2 separate regions of the Homo sapiens genome follow, and region 2 is linked to region 1. The links are contacts of gene promoters, found by promoter capture Hi-C in human tissues and cell types (Jung and others, 2019). All regions are on one chromosome and are shown on one strand. Each heading gives the region's core, a stretch centred on a gene start or on the middle of the fragment in contact. The rest is flanking DNA. Distances are from core to core; before and after follow the strand shown. Region 1 holds the start of RIN1 (Ras and Rab interactor 1). Region 2 has its middle 9.3 kb from the start of RNASEH2C.

Region 1 (3,894 bases), core at 1-2,500:
GTGGCCGTGGAGCTGACCTGACCAGGCAAGGCTGCTGTCTCCATCCCTGAGCCGCCTGCCACCTCCCACTCCTGAAGATCCATCTCTTGGGGCTCCCCTGACAGAGAAGACAGCCGAAGTCAAAGCCACATCCTCTTGCTGATGTTGGATGCAGGCTGTCCGGCCTCAGGGCCAGGGAGCCAGTTTCCACTGTGCGGGAACTCTGAGTCAGACGTGATTATCTGGGGGTCTGTCCACCCTGGCTGGATCTGGAGGCAAGATGCCAGGCCCCCCAGGTGTTCTCAGGGCAGTTCTTGGTGTCTGCTTCTCAGATTCCAAGGACTGGAATTAAAACCTTTCCTGGGACTCTGGCGTGCCCTGTGTGTGTGTGTGATTTACCTTGCAAGAGAATCAGGGCTCCCGTGGGGAGCACCTGAACCAGGCCGACTTCTAGGGTGCCTGCAGATTGCCACTCCTCACACTACCCAGCAGAGGCTAGAGCACTGTGCGTGGGGCCAGGCTGGGGAGGGGGAGGTGGGCGCTGGGCTGCCTGGCGCTGGGCAGAGTCAACATATGGCACCGGGAGAGTGCCTCGGCGGGGAGGGTGGATGCGTGTGCTTGGAGCCTGGGTCATGTCTGCACCTGTCCCAGTTGCCTGGCAGATTGGCAAGGCAGGCTGGCAGAGCCTGCGTGCGTGGGAGGCAGCCGGCAGCACCGCCATGTGCTGACGACCTCACAGCCAGACTCCCCCTGGTTAGCACTGAGTGTCAGAACCACCCCCAGAACCTCAGTTAAGCAAATAGGTTGGTTTCCATGGAGACATGGCATATTTTCTCCATGGCAACCTAAAATCCTAAAACCCAGGTTCAGGAATGAGTCATCTATGGACAGTAGAGGGTGCTCTCCCACAAGGCTGACCTGAGGCCAGGGGCAGATGAGCAACTGACCACAGAGCCAAAGGTGCCCCCAGAGCATGGCTGGGGCCTGTGGGGACTGAGGCCGCTTAACCACTTCCCGCCCACGTGTGCAATGTGAGTAGCTGGTGAGGCTGCAGGAGGCCGTGTGTGGAGGTGGCATCCCCCAGCTGGGGCCCTCAGAGCAGGGCTAGCATGGAGGGGACCCCTGACCCCCAAAGCAGGGTCCAGAACAGAGGAGGCGGGCACTGGCCAGGCAGGGTGGACACACAAGAGTTAACTGGCGGGTGTGACAGGCGGACCGCCCTCAGGAAGTGTTACTCACTGGGGATGTGCGTGCCTTGCCTTGGGACTGGATTCTCTTCCTGAAGCGAAGGAGCTCCCAGCCATGGAAAGCCCTGGAGAGTCAGGCGCGGGCTCTCCTGGAGCCCCCAGCCCGTCCAGCTTCACTACTGGGCACCTGGCGAGAGAAAAGTTAGTGAAGTTGGCAGGGCAGCCAGGTGGGGCAGGGAGGGGCTGCGAGAGGAGGGCCTATCCGGGGATAGAGAAAGTGGGAAACCCGGGAGTGGGGAAGAGGAGAGCAAGGGTCCCAGCCCCTGGCTCCCTGCTCAGATCTGGGTGCCTGCCCCCAGGCCAGCCCAGGACCCACTGTATGACGTGCCCAATGCCAGCGGCGGGCAGGCAGGCGGGCCGCAGCGGCCGGGGCGCGTTGTGAGCCTGCGGGAGCGCCTGCTGCTCACCCGGCCCGTGTGGCTGCAGCTGCAAGCCAACGCAGCGGCCGCACTGCACATGCTGAGGACCGAGCCCCCGGGGGTGAGTCTTGCCCCACACTCCAGGGACTGGCCAGCCAGGGGTGGGAGGGAGAGGGATGGGACGCCAAGGTCCTGAGCTGCCTGAGCCCTATCCACTTGCAGACGTTCCTCGTGCGGAAATCTAACACCCGCCAGTGCCAGGCCCTGTGCATGCGGTTGCCTGAAGCCAGTGGCCCCTCCTTCGTCTCCAGCCACTACATCCTGGAGAGCCCTGGCGGTGAGGGGCTGGCCTGGCGGGAAGGGGCTGGAAGCAGGGAGGTTCCCCAGAGAAGCACCTCACTTCCCTCCTCTCTCAGGCGTCTCCTTGGAGGGCTCGGAGCTCATGTTCCCAGACCTAGTCCAGCTCATCTGTGCCTACTGCCACACCCGGTGAGTCTGCCCGCAGGGTGCCTGGTGTCCACGGGCCCTGCTCCTTGGGACAGCCCATCCTTCCCGCCCTCTTCGGCCCTCACTCCCTTCTGCTCCCCTCTCTGGCCTCAGGGACATCCTTCTCCTCCCGCTGCAGCTCCCCAGAGCCATCCACCACGCAGCCACTCACAAAGAGCTGGAGGCCATCTCCCATCTGGGCATTGGTAAGGGCTTCCTGCCACCCATTGCACAGATGAACAAGCTGAGGCCGAGGGGAAGGCAAGGCTCGCAGCACACCGCCCGAAGCCCCTGCCTTGCCTTGGTTGGGAAACTTCCCCTAACCAGTCCCGGAGGCCCCAGTCGGTTTCTTGTTCCCTAGAGTTCTGGAGCTCCTCCCTCAACATCAAGGCTCAGCGGGGCCCGGCTGGAGGCCCAGTGTTGCCCCAGCTGAAGGCCCGGTCCCCTCAAGAGCTGGACCAGGGCACCGGAGCCGCCTTGTGCTTCTTCAACCCCCTGTTCCCGGGGGACCTAGGGCCCACCAAGCGGGAGAAATTCAAGAGAAGCTTCAAAGTGCGCGTGTCCACAGAGACCTCCAGCCCCCTGTCTCCACCTGCCGTGCCACCTCCCCCCGTCCCCGTGCTGCCAGGGGCAGTCCCCAGCCAGACAGAGCGGCTGCCCCCTTGCCAGCTGCTACGGAGGGAGAGCTCAGTGGGGTACCGCGTGCCAGCAGGCAGTGGCCCTAGCCTTCCGCCTATGCCCTCCCTCCAAGAGGTGGACTGCGGCTCCCCCAGCAGCTCCGAGGAGGAGGGGGTGCCAGGGTCCCGGGGGAGCCCAGCGACCTCACCCCACCTGGGCCGCCGACGACCTCTGCTTCGGTCCATGAGCGCCGCCTTCTGCTCCCTACTGGCACCGGAGCGGCAGGTGGGCCGGGCTGCGGCAGCACTGATGCAGGACCGACACACAGCCGCGGGCCAGCTGGTGCAGGACCTACTGACCCAGGTGCGGGCTGGGCCCGAGCCCCAGGAGCTGCAGGGCATCCGTCAGGCGCTGAGCCGGGCCCGGGCCATGCTGAGTGCGGAGCTGGGCCCTGAGAAGCTGCTGTCGCCTAAGAGGCTGGGTGAGGCTCCGTCTCTCCATAGCTCCAGCACTGCCCCATCCGACCCTCTGCTCCCCTCCACAGCGCCAGCCTGTCTGATTCTGTTCTGCTGCTTTACAAATCCATCTTGTCTTACCACTGTTCGAGAGAGTTCCATCCCCTCTCTCCCCCAACTCTTCCGTCTCACCCAGGCTACCTCCTCCTGCTTTCCTTGCCTCTCCTCCCCGATTCTACCCCTGCTCCCTTCTCCCCTTGCCTCTGCCCCCCATACCCCCAGTCTTCCCCTGACCCCTCCCTGTCCCTCCGGCAGAACATGTCCTGGAGAAGTCATTGCATTGCTCTGTGCTCAAGCCTCTCCGGCCCATCCTGGCAGCCCGCCTGCGGCGCCGGCTTGCCGCAGACGGCTCCCTGGGCCGCCTAGCTGAGGGCCTCCGCCTGGCCCGGGCCCAGGGCCCCGGAGCCTTCGGGTCCCACCTGAGCCTGCCCTCCCCAGTAGAGTTGGAGCAAGTGCGCCAGAAGCTGCTGCAGCTGCTCCGCACCTACTCACCCAGCGCCCAGGTCAAGCGGCTCCTGCAGGCCTGCAAGCTGCTCTACATGGCCCTGAGGACCCAGGAAGGTATGTCCCTGCCACCACCTCACCCTGCCCTGCCCCTTTGAGTCAGAGGCGGGCCCCCCAGCGGCAGGTCCCCAGGACCCTAGAACAGCCCTGCAGGAGAGAATGAGCCCACCCTCCCCTCTTGCAGAT
Region 2 (6,645 bases), core at 3,495-5,994, 610 kb after region 1:
TTGCATTTCCCTAATGATTAGTCACGTTGAGCATTTTTTCATATACCTTTGGCCATTCATATGTATTTTGAGAAATGTCTGTTCAGGTCCTTTGCCCATTAATTCACTGGGTTATTTGTTTTCTTGCCATTGAGTTGTTTGAGTTATATATTTTGGATATTAACTGCTTATCAGATATATGGTTTGCAAATATTTTCTCCCATTCTGTTTTTGTCTCCACTCTGTTAATTGATTCCTTTGCTGCCCAGAGGCTTTTTAGTTTGATATCATCCCATTTGTCTATTTTTGCTTTTGTTGCCTGTGCTTTCAGGGTCATTTTCAAAAATTCATTGCTCAGACCAATGTCATAGATCTTTTCCTCTATGTTTTTTCTAGTAGTTTTACAGTTTGTTTTATATTTAAGTCTTTAATCCATTTTGAGTTGATTTTTGTATATAGTGTAAGATAAGAGTCTAGTTTCATCTTCTGCATTCTCAATACCATTTATTAAAGAGAGTATCCTTTTCAAATTGTATATTCTTGGCATCTTTGTCAAAAATCAATTTGCCATAAATGTATGGGTTTATTTTGGGGGCATTATATCCTGTTCCATGTGTTGATATATCTTTTTTTTAATGGCAGTACCATGCTATTTTGATTACAGTAACTTTATAATATATTTTGAAATCAGGGAGTATGATGCCTCCAGATTTGTTATTTTGCTCAGGATTGCTTTGACTGTTTGGGGTCTTTTGTGGTTCCATGTGGACTTGAGGATTGTTTTTTCTTTTTTATAAAAAAAGACTTTGGAATTTTGATAAGGATTGCATTGATTCTGTGGATTTGGGTAGTTTGGTTACTATGGACATTTTAACAATACTAATTATTCCAATCCATGAACATGGGATATCTTTGCATTTATATGTGTTTCCTTCCATTTCTTTTTTTTTTTTTTTTTGAGATGGAGTTTCACTCTGTTACCCAGGCTGGAGTGCAGCGGCACGATCTCAGCTCACTGCAACCTCCACCTCCTGAGTTCAAGTGATTCTTCTGCCTCAGCCTCCTGAGTAGCCAGGACCACACGCATGCGCCACCATGCCCGGCTACTTTTTGTATTTTTAGTAGAGACAGGGTTTCAGCATATTAGAAAGGCTGGTCTCGAACTTCTGACCTCGTGATCCGCCCACCTGGCCCTCGCAAAGTGTTGGGATTACAGGCATGAGCCACCGTGCCCAGCCTCCTTCCATTTCTTTCATCAGTGTTTTATAGTTTTCGGTATACAGACCCTTCCCCTTCTAACAGCAAAAGCATTTGACAAAATTCAACACCTTTTCATGATAAAAATAAACACTCAACAAACTAGAAATAGAAGTATACACCCTCACCATAATAAAAAGCCATATATAAAACACCCACAGTGAACACCATACTCAATGGTGAAACATTGAAAACATTTCCTCTAATATCAGGAACAAAGCAAGGATGCTTGCTTTCACTATTTCCATTCAACATAGCACTGAACATTCTAGCCAGAGCAATTAGGCAAGAAAAAGAAATAAAAGGCATCCACACTGGAAAGGAAGAAGTAAAATCATCTCTGTTCACTGATTACATTGATCCTTTTTTTTTTAGTTGGGGTCTTACTCTATTACCCAGGCTAGAGTGCAGTGGCACAATCATGGCTCACTGCATTCTTAAACTCCTGGCCTCATGTGATTCTCCCACCCCAGCCTCCCAATTTGCTATGATTACTGTTATAAGCCACCAGGCTCAGGCCTGATATGATCTTTTATGTAGAAAATTCTAAAGGTTCCACACATCAAAAAAAAAAAACTGTTAGAATTAATAAATGATTTCAACAAAGTAGCACATACAACGTAAACACATAAAAAGTCGCATTTCTATGTGCTAACAATCTGAAAAGGAAATTTAAAAACAATTCCATTTACAATGCATTCAAAAGAATTAAATATTGGCCGGGTGCGGTAGCTTATGCCTGTAATCCCAGCACTTTGGGAGGCTGAGGCGGGTGGATCACCTGAGGTCAGGAGTTCAAGACCAGCCTGGCCAACATGGCAAAACCCTGTCTCTACTAAAAATACAAAAATTAGCCAGGCATGGTGGCAGGCGCCTGTGATCCCAGCTACTCGGGAGAATGAGGCAGGAGAATCGCTTGAACCCAGGAGGCGGAGGTTGCAGTGAGCCGAGATCGTGCCACTGCACTCCAGCCTGGGCGACAAGAGGGAAACTCCATCTCAAAAAATAAAATAAAATAAAATAAAATAAATCAAATAATTAAATAAAATAAAATATTTAGGAATTAACCAACAGGTAAACGACTTATACAATAGAAACTACAAAACATTGCTGAAAGAAATTAAAGAAGACATAAATTAATGGAAACACTTCCCATGTTTGTGGATTGGAAGAGTTAATATTGCTAAGATGTGAATACTACCCAAAGCAATCTACATATTCAATGCAATCCCTATCAAAGTCATGATGATGTTTTTCACTGACATTTCTTAAATAACCATCCTAAAATGTTTATGGTATCTCAAGGTGAGGCAGGGCAAATTCTTGGCTTCACTCAGGAAGGAATTCAAGAGCAAGCCGGGGGTAGAAGAAAACAGCTTTATTGAAGCAGTGGCAACGTCACAGCTCCGTGACTGCTCCTGCCATGCAGGGCTACCTCATAGGCAGTGTGCTGAGAGTAGCAGCCTAGGGGCACTTTTGCAGTTATATTTATACCCACTCTTAATGGTATGCTAATTAAGGGGTCGGTTATTTTAAAATAGCTCAAAAATGGGCAGTAACTTTCAGGTGTTGCCATGGCAATGGTAAACAGTCATGGCGTTAGTGGGCATGTCTTATGGAAAGGTGCCTTCAGTGTCTCTTCCCAGTTTCTTTTCTTTTGAAATGGAGCCAGGCTGGAGTGCAGTGATGAAATCTCAGCTCACTGCAACCTCCGTCTCCCAGGTTCAAGTGATTCTCCTGTCTCAGCCTCCTGAGTATCTGGGACTACAGGCGCCCGCCACCACACCTGGCTAATTTTTGTATAATTTTTTATATTTTTAGTAGAGACGGTGTTTCACCATATTGGCCAGGCTGGTCTTGAACTCCTGGCCTCAAGTGATGTACCCGGCTCGGCCTCCCAAAGTGCTGGCATTACAGGCATGAGCCACCACACACAGACTCTTCCCAGTTTCAACCAGTCTTCAACCTGGCCCACAGTCGAGTCCCACCTGCCTCCTACCTCATTCTCCCCTCAGAGATCAGATACTCCTCCTTAATCTGAAAGGGGTTGCAAAAGGGTGGAGGTCCATGTTCTGTAACTGCTCCCTGCTGAGTTCATGGGAATAGGCCCTGCATAGCACTAGAGGAGTAAAAATCTCCAGATACCTGACCCAAGGCGGCCCAAAGGCAGGATGCTTTCATTCTCTAGGTCAGAAGATGGATGGGTTAGAAACCTTGTGCCAGCATTGTCTTTACCTGGAACTGTTGTAACCTAGAAGACACAAACTTTATTAAGAGGTTAAACAAGCAGGCCGGGAGTGGTGGCTCATGCCTATAATTCCAGCACTTTGGGAGGCCGAGGTGGGCAGATCACCTGAGGTCAGGAGTTCGAGACCAGCCCATGGTGAAACAACATGGTGAAACCCCATCTCTACTAATAATTCAAAAATTAGCCAGGTGTGGTGGCTCACACCTGTAATCCCAGCTACTCAGGAGGCTGAGGCAGGAGAATCGTTTGAACCCAGGAGGGGGAGGTTGCAGTGAGCTGAGATCGTGCCATTGCACTCTAGCCTGGGCAACAAAGAGCAAAACTCCATCTCAAAAAAAAAAGAGGTTAAAAAAGCAAGGGCCAAAGATTAGTAATAACAAGACAGCTATCAAAGGTCCTAGGAGAGGTAAGAACCAAGTGAGACTTGGGAGGGGTTTTTTTTTTTTTTTTTTGAGATGAAGTCTTGCTCTTGTTGCCCAGGCTGGAGTTCAATGGCGCGATCTCAGCTCATTGCAACCTCTGCCTCCCGGGTTCAAGCAATTCTCCTGCCTCAGCCTCCCAAGTAGCTGGGATTACAGGCGCCCGCCACCACGTACGTCTAATTTTTGTATTTTTAGTAGACACAGGGATTCACCATGTTGGCCAGGCTGGTCTCGAACTCCTGACTTCAGGCAATTCACTTGCCTCGGCCTCCCAAGTGCTGGGATTACAGACATGAGCCACTGTGCCCGGCCGGGAGGGCATTTTTGATAATCGAGCAGATATAGCTGGAGTCAGTGACCCAGCATCTATGTGACCAGATAGATTGCTGATAGATCGTGTGAATGTTAATCTCAACCTGTCCAGGTTTTATTCATAACTGCACAGCCTCCACCTTGTTCAGCTAGTAAATAATCCAATGCTAGTCTCTTATCAAGAACTACATTTGCCAAAGAGTCTAGGAATCCCTGAATTCCTTTTAATGCCTGACCTGTGTTGGTGGCTAATGATTCCAGGGTTTGAGTCAGTTCTTTAGGGCCAACTCATGGTAGGCAAAGCCACCCCAGGGGGCCACTAGTTCTAATGCCACTCCAGTTCATGTCAGAATTAATCCTATTGATCATTCATTTCTGGTATTCCTCGGTCTTACAGGGTTTTATATGGTGACCCCCGGAAGGCCAAAGGGTGGCCAACATACACTCACCCCTGTTCCAAGTTTTTGATATACAAAGGAAAGCTACTCCTAAAAGAACAGGAGGTCCTCTGGGGAGTTAGGAGTGGTTATGGGATGTGACTTCTTCCCACTTATGACCACAAATGAAAACGAACCCATTTGGGGTGCAATAGAGGCCCTGTGAGGTGTGATGCCTATCTTTAGCCACTAAGTTGGGTCTGTGGAGATACAAGATATCTCCCCCCATTCCAACGGGGAGGACCAAACAACCCTGGTAGGGTTTTCTGGGTTTTGTTTGTTTTTTGCTTTTTGACAGTTGACAGAGCTAGCTGAGGCTTTATCTTGAAAAAACAAAACAAAACAAAACAAAACAGTGGAATTGTTTTGTGATGGAGGCATGGGCAAGGGAGTTACCCCACACAAGTGGGCTGTGGAGGAGGGCTGAGCCTCAAGTGGGTCTCCTGTTCCCTGCGCTTTCCTGCACAGCAGCCTCCCCCACAAGCTCTGGGGCAGCTGCAAGAGGGGGTAGGCTGGGAGGGACTGCCATAGTTGTTCGCTTGGGCAGGACATCAGAGGACTCGGACACCAGCTTCCCAACCATGGTCCTGGAGGAGCTGGTGCGGCTGAAGGAGCTGAAATCCCTGCCAGAGTCAAGGCTGGGGCCCAGGCCGTAGCTGAGGCCAGGGCTTGTGAGGCCCCGGGAGGCCGAGCTCAGCTGTCTACTTAAGCAGCTGCGGCGCCAGGTCCTGCTTGGCCGGCGCCAGGTCCTGCTTGGCCTGCTACAGGGCAGCCTCCAGCTCCACCAGCTCCCCACGCTGCTCAGCATCCGCGATGGCCTCTGAGGCCCTCAATCTCAGCATGGACCCCGCTGATGTTGCGGATCATCTCAGAGTTCTCCATCTTCCCGCGACGCAGGTCATCCCCGTGCTTCCCAGCCAGTGTCTGCAACTCCTCATCCTTGACCTGGTGCAGACTCTTAGCCTTGCCTGGCCGCAGTGGGCGATCTCCTCGTACTGGGCGTTGACCTCCGCGATGATGCCATCCACGTCCAGGGAGTGGCTGTTGTCCATGGACAGCACACAGACGTGTCCGAGATCTGGGACTGCAGCTTCCAGATCTCCTCTTCACACAGCTCTCTGGGGAAGTTGATCTTGTCAGTCAGCCCTTCCAGGTGAGACTCCAGCACTGCCTTGTTCATGTAAGCTCCATCCACATCCTTCTCGATGAAGGCAAATTCATTCCCCATCTCTGTCCGCTCGTTGATCTCATCCTGGTACTTATCGTTGAAGTCTTCCAGCAGCCCCTGCGTGTTGCCAAGATCTGCCTCCACCTTCAGCTTCTCCTGGCCCAGTGTCCAGCTGCTGCCCAAGGCTGTGGATGTGGCTCTCAAACACGCTGTCCATGTTGCTCCCAGCTGTCTTCTGCTGCTGCAGGATGCTCCACTTAGTCTCCAGCATTTGTTCTGCTGCTCCAGGAACTGCACCTTGTCGATGAAGGAGGCAAACTTGTTGAGGGTCTTGATCTGCTCCTTCTCCTGGGTATGCACAGCCTGGATATTGGGGTCCAGGTCCAGCTTAAGGGGGCTCAGCAGACTCTGGTTCACCATGATGGCTGTGTCGCCCACCCCCACCCCATACCACTGCCCCACCATAGCCACCACCCAGACTCATGCTGGTGCCTAGGCCACTCCAGAAGCTGCTGCTGCTGCCCACTTGGGAGAAGCTCAAGGAGCTGATGTGGGCACCGGGACCACTGGTGTAGGAGCGGCTGCTGAAGGCCCAGGGGCCAGAGATGGATGCCTTGTAGGGCTTCTGGGTCACCGTGATGGACACGATGGAGGCAGGAGTGGAGGTAGGCAGGCCGAACCAGATGTAGATTCAAGGATGGAGAAGCTTCCTCTAGGTCAGCCCTTGTTTTCCAGAAGGGGGCGGTAATCTCACCTTCCCAGATTAGGCAGTTGTTTTTTTCTCTGTATGTTCTGCTCTGGGAGAAGGCACTGTATATGGTC

What was found. The method cuts DNA at HindIII sites, captures the fragments that hold promoters and counts their contacts. A contact is called where the count stands out against the background at its distance.
Region 2: a contact is called between a fragment that was not itself captured here and the fragment with the promoter of RIN1 in region 1, in 1 of the 25 tissues and cell types used here (dorsolateral prefrontal cortex).

The regions. Positions count from the first base shown.
Region 1 is chr11:66,333,790-66,337,683 of GRCh38, reverse strand. RIN1 (Ras and Rab interactor 1) reads left to right here and starts at 1,250. Exons shown (of 10, transcript NM_004292.3): 1 at 1,250-1,367; 2 at 1,526-1,706; 3 at 1,808-1,922; 4 at 2,002-2,074; 5 at 2,186-2,277; 6 at 2,433-3,170; 7 at 3,460-3,765. The coding sequence starts at 1,282. BRMS1 (BRMS1 transcriptional repressor and anoikis regulator) reads left to right here. Exons shown (of 10, transcript NM_015399.4): 10 at 1-345. RefSeq lists an enhancer at 1-770. The HindIII fragment of the contact is 7,337 bases long and covers 1-3,307 here.
Region 2 is chr11:65,726,763-65,733,407 of GRCh38, reverse strand. It overlaps the pseudogene KRT8P26. Among named protein-coding and RNA genes, the nearest start is that of RNASEH2C, 9.3 kb to the right of the region's middle. The HindIII fragment of the contact is 6,520 bases long and covers 1,485-6,645 here.